Linked DNA regions of Homo sapiens: region 2 is linked to region 1. The links are contacts of gene promoters, found by promoter capture Hi-C in human tissues and cell types (Jung and others, 2019). All regions are on one chromosome and are shown on one strand. Each heading gives the region's core, a stretch centred on a gene start or on the middle of the fragment in contact. The rest is flanking DNA. Distances are from core to core; before and after follow the strand shown. Region 1 holds the start of ISX (intestine specific homeobox). Region 2 has its middle 50 kb from the start of ISX.

Evidence for each region. The method cuts DNA at HindIII sites, captures the fragments that hold promoters and counts their contacts. A contact is called where the count stands out against the background at its distance.
Region 2: a fragment that was not itself captured here is called in contact with the fragment with the promoter of ISX in region 1 in 1 of the 25 tissues and cell types used here (H1 embryonic stem cells).

Annotation. Positions count from the first base shown.
Region 1 is chr22:35,063,876-35,067,927 of GRCh38, reverse strand. It overlaps ISX (intestine specific homeobox), which reads right to left and starts at 1,770. Exons shown (of 5, transcript NM_001303508.2): 1 at 1,466-1,770; 2 at 612-1,176. The coding sequence starts at 840. The HindIII fragment of the contact is 5,369 bases long and covers 314-4,052 here.
Region 2 is chr22:35,114,262-35,117,898 of GRCh38, reverse strand. No RefSeq gene overlaps it. Among named protein-coding and RNA genes, the nearest start is that of ISX, 50 kb to the right of the region's middle. The HindIII fragment of the contact is 3,876 bases long and covers 427-3,637 here.

The DNA of each region.
Region 1 (4,052 bases), core at 521-3,020:
CATGCCTTGGGGTGGCCACTGGCTTGGGGAAGGTGATCAGGGTGGACAGACTTTTCCCAAGCCAAAGCTTCGGCCCCTGGGCAAAGCTTCAGCCCCTGGAAGTTGTGCAGACTGAACTTGGCTTATGAGGAGGAGACTGTGCTGGGCCCAGCAGGGATTTGGGGGAGTCAGAGCCAGGTCCTGATAGCGGGGCTTCTGTTTACCAGCTGTGTAACTTGGGGACATTATCCTCCTCTTCTCTTTCACAGATGAGTTTTCTTATCTGTCCAGTTATGATAATCATGCTTTTCTACTGAAATTAAAAGAGAATGCCTATGACATTGTCAATGCTGAATAAATGGTAACTAGCATTCTTAGCCGGGGCCTGGTTACAATAACAAGCCCCAGGTCCCTGCATTCTGCAACTAACTGAGCCTTGGTGTCTGAAGCTGAAAAGCACAGTTTTGGGTTAGATTGAAAGGTATATCAGGAAACCAGCCCAGAGCCAGGTCTTGCTCTGAATTTTAGAGTCCTCTATCCAGTTAATATGGACGGAGAAGCTTTTTCTCTGCCTGAGCCCAGCTGGGTCTTGGAGACCAGGAAACAGAAAGAAATGATCAGAAGACACTTACCCTGGGGCTGGTCCTTTGGAGGCTTTTCTAGCCCAGAGCCTGAGGCCGCAGCTTCTCCGGGGCCCTCTTCACCTGGCCCTTCTGGTCTGTCCATATCACTCCTCCTGGCAGGCCTCTTTAGGATCGCCTCAATGGAGAAGGACAGGCTCAGCTTCTTCGGGGCCTCACAGCACCCCAAGCTATTTCTCTCCATACCCCTGCAGAGAGCAGGGCCCACCTCAGCACACATTGAGGGGCTCAGGGGTGACTCTGTGTAGGCCAAGGAGGGTGCCAGTGGAGAGTGGCGTACTTCCTCCCCTGAACCTCCTGGGGTCAAGAGGGCGCGTGGAGGTGAAGAACAGAGAGCCTCCAGTTAGATGATCCAAACAGGATTTCGTGTCCACAGGGACTTCCATGGGCAGGTCACAGCAGAAGAGCTGGAAGGAGTGGTATCCTGTGCCCACGGCTCAGCCCTTACCAGTTTGACATCAAAGGAGTCACCATGGCTGAATTGGGGTTCAATCTTCCAGAGAAGGGTCTTCTCGGACACAGTTGCCTGCACAATCACCAGGTTAGGCCAGGATCCCTGAGGTCACCGCCCAGTGGCGAACAAAGAGAAGAGGGAGAAACAATAAGGCACAGGAAAGAGGAGGTCAGTCTCCAGAGGAGGTTTGGAGGCAGGGGTCCACCTTTGCCCTTTCTCTGGCTTCTGGCCCTTTCCTGTGGCTCTAGCCAGCCTTTAGGAGGAGGTTGGAGTGCCACCCTTGGCCTCAGGTGGCCAATTCAGTCCTGGGCTTTACTGCAGCTTGAGGGGTCTTCCCAGACACCCGTGTTTACTTCCTTCAGTTCTGCTGCTTCCAGACTCCAGAACGTACCTTCAGCGCATCAGTGCTCCTGCTGTCCTGCAGGTGGAGGCTGAGGAAAGGGGGTCCCTGGGTGCTGCCAGGCCTGTCTCTTCTCTGTGCCAGGGCTGGGCTGAGCTGTGGGTCTGATTCTTCTCAGGTGCCTCTGGGCTGGCCCTGGCTTTTTTTCTGTTCTATTTTCCCTGACGTCACTTTACATGCGAAGCCCTCTCTCCACAAGCGCCTGACCCAGGGTACCTCTCCCTTCCTTGTGGGGTCCTTTATGCTGTTTCTCCCAGTCTCCTGAGACAGACTGAAGAGGCCCTTTCTCTCTGACTGGGAGCTGACAGTTGTTGATCTGTCCTTGCCTGGAATTTTGCTCCAAATTACTGTGTAACCAAGGAGGAGGGGGCAGTAAAACAGGCTGATAAGAGAAAAACTCTCCACGCCCCTTAAGGCTGGGGATGCAGGTGTCAGGGTAGAAAAGTGGCAGGAGGCAGTGGGGATCTGAAGGACAGGTATTGGAGGCCCCAGGGAGGGGCTGTGCTGGGGAACTGGCCAGAGCAGGGGAAGGGAAGGTGGGAGCAGAATGGCCAGGAAGTGTACCCAGGCCCAATAAAACATGTTTACTCAGCCAGGAGAGCCTGTGGTCATGTGTGGGGGAGGCTGGGCTGAGGTGCAGTCTGCTGGCTGTCAGCCTTAGGCATTCATTTGCTCTCAGATGTGCTTTCCATGGCTTGCAAATATCAGATCAGGAAAAGCATTCCAGGGCTTTCTGATATGGGGAAACTGAGGTCCAGACCAAGGAGGTACAGAAAATGTGATGGCAGGGCCTGATCACAGTACTCCCCTGGGGATGTCCATGATGCCATGCTGGCCACAAGGAGCCAATTTGCACAGGAGGGATGGATACCCTGGCAGAGACTGTGAATGTAAATTTGGATGTTAGAATCTAGATCTTCTCATAGAGGGCAGGGGTGGGAGGTGAAGGATAGGGAACGTTGGTCTCCACTCCCTGAGAAGAGTGAGTCAGGAGAGAGAGGGACTCACCCTGAGAGAGGGAACAGGTAAAGATGCCCCATTTTAGGAGCTGTGCCCCTTGGAAGTGTCAGGCTGTCTGATTTAGTTAGGGGGGGAATAGGCTCTGCTGTAGTAGCAAGTAAACCCTATAGTCTTGGGAGCATAATAGCTCACCCACATCACATTCTAATGTAGTCATTTAGGGACCCAGATTCCTTTCAAACAGTGATGCCACCATTCTCCAATCATAGGCTCCAAGTTTTCTGGGGAAAGGGAGACAGCAAAGGAGAATTTTTTTTTTTTAATTTTAAGTTCTGGGATACATGTGCAGAATGTGCAGGTTTGTTACATAGGTATACATGTGCCTTGGTGCTTTGCTGTACCTATCACCCCATCATCTAGGTTTAAGTCCTGCGTGCATTAGGTATTTGTCCTAATGCTCTCCCTCCCCTTGCCCCCAACCCCTTGACTGGCCCCAGTGTGTATTTTCCCCCTCCCTGTGTCCATGTGTTCTCATTGTTCAACTCCCACCTATGAGTGAGAACATTCAGTATTTGGTTTTCTGTTGAAAGGAGAAATTTTGATGAGTCAGAAGTGGAAGTGGTTGATAGACCTTCTGCTCACATTCTGTGGCCAGAGGGAGTCACATGACCCTGCTTAGACCTATCCCTTTCCTAGGGCTGGACAGGGGAGTTTTCCTGCCAGGAGACAAATGAACCAGTTTGTTGACTTTTGCAGTGAAGAGGCCAGAGTCCCCTAGAAGTCAGGCCCACCATTGGTCCATGGAAGGGGTTGTTGGATGAGAGGACAAGGTTCCTTACACTCAGGGCAGAGGAAGCTCTGATGGGTACTTGAGATGCTTGGTCAAGAGCAAGGACAGGATCTTTGGGGGTGGAAGTGGCAGAGGCAAAAAGAGAGAGGCGATGGAGCCCTTTCTCTCTGCTGGACCTCGTGCCTGCAGCTGTGTGCTCACCGTTTCACTTAATCCATTCAACAGCCTGATCAATTAGGTGTCATTAATGCCATTTAACAGCTGAGGAGACATGCCCAGAGAAGTGGAGTGATAGGACAGCTAGCCACTAGAAGCAGCAAGATTCAAACTCAGGTGAGTCTGGCTCTGCACCTCACATCCCTCCCACTTTGCTGTAATACCCAGAGACCATCTGGCTCAGCCCTCTCATTTCACAGGTGAAGAACTGAGCAGCAGCGAGAGAAATTGCCAGAGTTACACCTGTTGTTTTCAGCACCTTGTTTGATTTCCTTTCATTTTGCCTCTTTCCAAGGTGTGACTGGCCCCTGGACAGGTTAACAGAACACCCTTCTGTGGTGTGGACCCGGACGCTTACTCCCCTCTCTCCCATGATTAGCCATAATCCTGACGTTACTGACTTCAATTCTTTTATCACTCACATGTATGCTCATTCCATGAATATTTCTTGAGCATCTACTATGTGCCAAACACTCTGGAGATGTAGATGAAAGAGATATGGCCCCTGCCCTGAGGGACTTACATTCTGGGGTGGGGGTGGGGTGGGGTGGGAGGAAGGGGGACATGGCTGCAGACGTACAGTGACACAAGGCAGGAAGTATCAATGGTCCG
Region 2 (3,637 bases), core at 1,115-3,614, 49 kb before region 1:
CACTTGCCACCTTTCAGCTTTGGCCTGCATCTGGAAGTAAGATGATGGAGAAAGGCAGCCCAAATAGCACCTTCATTATCGATAGTGCCTGGCATGGCGAATGGGGCTTAAATCTGGAGGCCAGGGTCTGACAGCCCACCCGGGGTACTGGCATGGAGAATGGAGCTTAAATCTGGAGATCAGGGTCTGACAGCCCACCCGGGGTACCAGCTGGGTGGGCACAGCCCCCCGCCCTTCCCTGAATCAATCTATGGACAGGGATCCCTATAGAGGGCTAAGGGTTCAGGTCCTCTATCTAAGCATCTGGCTCCTAAGAGAGAGGGAAGAAGAAAGGACAGCGTTGCAGGGGCCCCGCTTCTCCTCCTTGTCAGTCCACAGGTATGAGGGCAGCAGCGCCAGGAGTGGGGTGCTGAGGGCAGGCAGAGGATGCTTCAGAAACACCTGTGTAGTAAGAGGGGAGGGTAATACTCATGCTCCCAGGACGGCTGAGGATTCAATGAGGCTGAAGCAATTCTGTTGAGATGAGCTGTCTTGTAGACAATTGAGGGTTTATTCTGAGAGAGCAGGTGGTGAAGGAGCTCTGGGTCTGAGTTCTCGTCCTGGCTGTGTGGCCCTGTACACGCCACCTCTCCCAGCGTCAGCCTCCTCACTTGTAATATGAAGGTAGCCATAAAACCTGGCCTGTTTCTCAGGGTTACCCCGAAGATGCAGTGAAGAAAGTCACGCTGCCATCCCTGGTAAGGGTGGGAACTGCTGCCTGGCTTCCAGGGCCCTGCAGTGTGCCTGGCTTGGTGCCCTGGCAGGGTCTGGTCAGCCTGCCCTTCCCGTGCGCCAGCAGTGAGCCCCGGGCTGCACTCCCTTGGCCGGCTGAGCTGCACCCCTTCTCTGTGCTATGACAGCACCACTTTATAAACCAGGCGCTCTCCTCGAAAGCTATGCCTGGGGCACATGTTTTTATCCTGCAGCCATAAAGTGGGATCAGGGAAGAATTTACAGTCAAGGCTATAAAGTAATAACAGGAAAGAGGCCATTTTGCTGGGTTCAGGTGGAGGTGAGCGAGGAGTTCAGAAGTTCAAGACCTCCAGGCATTTCCTGGGTGGCTGATAATCCTCCTGGTGCTGAACCCGGCTGCACCCCAGTCCTGGGGCTTCTCAGGGTCTGAGTGAAGGGGGCCATTGTTGATGGTTCTCAGCTTGGACTGATGGACACCTGTAGGCTTGAGTGGTGTCCCCAAGTGAGGGCACTGGGGGTAGGGTGCGCCTTTTTGGGCTCTCACTTCTATGCCACCTGGGGAGGAGGTTTTCCCGGGCTCCTGTCTCATTCTGGGAACATAAACGGAGGGGCGGAGTGTGGCCAGGGAAGTCAGCTAAGCTTGGCCATGTGGGGTTCCTCGGCCTGGGTTCATGTCCTGACTCACCACTGGCTCTGTGGCCTTGGGCAAGGCCCTCTACCTCTCTGAGCCTGTTTCCACACCTGTTCCTGGGGGAGGATAACACCTCCCATAACTGAGCTTATATCCTGGCACACAGTTGGTGGATAACAGAGGCGGCTCCCTGGTCTTCCTCTGTCATCCTCATGCTCTCTCCTGCTGGACTTTGCACCTTCCCAGCACTCAGAGACATGGACCCGATGGGGCTTCGGAGTCATCCTAGCCTGAGAGGGGCAGAGGTGGGAGCTCTGGCCTCTGGAGCCCAAAGCATTAGGTTCTAGTTCCTGTATGAACACTTCTTAGCTCTGTGATCTCAGGCAAGTTGCTTAACCTCTCTGAGTCCCAATTTCTACCTCCATGGAAGGCAGATTTTGTTGCCAATGTTCTGGGGCTGTTCCCTGGACACCCTGCTGTACCTGGTCACTGCGCCTGGTCCTAGGGGAGGCCTTCAATAAGTGCATTTACTGAGGGGAGAATGAGGCCTAGAGAGGTGGGAGGACTTTCCCAACGTCACCCAGCTGGGAGCTTGGTCTGAAGAAGGAAGGGGCTGTTGCATCTTCTAACTGGGATTTCTCAGGCTTTCAAGGATAGAATTGAGTGTCAATGGCAAGGCAGATTTTGTGGGGTGGTGAGAAAAATGGCCAGTCACAGCAACTTTGTATTCAAATCCTCTTTAACACCATCGGAGGCCAGCAATATTTTGGGATTATTGAGGGCCAATGATGGCCTGCGGGACAAATCCAACCCACTGACTGATTTTGTGAATAAAGTTTTATTAGAACACAGCCATGGCCATTCTCTGATGTGTTGTCTCTGGCTACTTTTGAGCTACAGCTGCAGAGTTAAGTAATTGCAACAGGGATCCTAAGACCCGTAAAGCTTAAAGTATTTACTATCTGGCCCTTCATAGAAAACATTTGTGCACTTCCCTAGCAGCTGTGGGATCTGGGGCTGGGATCTATGCTCGAATCCACTGTCCACCTTCCTTTTCTTTTTTCTTTTTTTGAGACGGAGTCTTGCTCTGTCGCCCAGGCTGGAGTGCAGTGCCATCTGGGCTCACTGCAAGCTCCGCCTCCCAGGTTCATGCCATTCTCCTGCCTCAGCCTCCCAAGTAACTGGGACTACAGGCGCCTGCCACCTCGCCTGGCTAATTTTTTGTATTTTGTTTAATAGAGACGGGGTATCACCGTGTTAGCCAGGATGGTCTCGATCTCCTGACCTCGTGATCCGCCCTCCTCGGCCTCCCAAAGTGCTGGCTAACAGGCGTGAGCCACCACGCCCAGCCACCACCTTCCTTTTCTAGAAGCCGAGGGGCAGCTGCCTGCTCACTGCCTCATTGTGTGGCAGACAGTGACCTGAAGCCACAGAACACCTAGATAGCTTCTAGCATCAGGTTACAGCCTGGCTAATTTGTACTGTCCTCTCCCAGGGTCACACCAGAGAGGAGAGGCAATGGTGGTGGGAATGTTCCGCGGGCCCCCACAGCTCTCCCTCCCATGCATGAAATGCTCTGCCGTTGAAGCGTCTTCCAATCCCCTTTGTGTTTCCTCAATTCTCATAGCAACTCTCCTAGGCATGTACTTGTCGGTAAGTGCTGAATGGATAACACAGGAGGGAATCCCAGTTGTGTATTTTAGAGGAATTGTTGAAAGTCCCATGGCTTCTCCATCAGGCTCAGAGCCTTCCCCGTGGTGCCACTGAGCACCAGCCATCCCTGTGGTTCCGCTGAGCACATCTTGGGTGGAGGCGGGCAGAGATCTGGACCCCAGCCTGTCTCTGATTCCTCACGTGGGGCTCTCTGCCTGAGATTCTTCCATTTGTTCTGTATGCCCAGCACACCACATTCGCTTTATACACTTACTGGTCGTGCACTGAAATGCAGAGTTTTACGGAACTCTTTAAAGACGCTTGAGTGAGCCACTTGAGAGCATGTGTCTTCCTGTTGTCAAAGATGTTGCACATCGAGGGCTGGCTGCGTGCACGTGGAGCTCCAGCTGGTGGATTCTCTCTTTCCTCCTTTCATGGTCACCAAACCCAGGAAGTTCCTCTTCCTAAAGGTTCCTTGGAGAGCTTCTGGATGCCTTTTCCAGAGAGCCTGGCTCAAGGTCAACAAAGGAGTCCAAGACACAGCTGGAGTGAGGATCCATTTCTTTGGACTCCAAATGTGGACCAAGCATTGTAATATGGGGGTGGAAGAAAGAGCAAAAA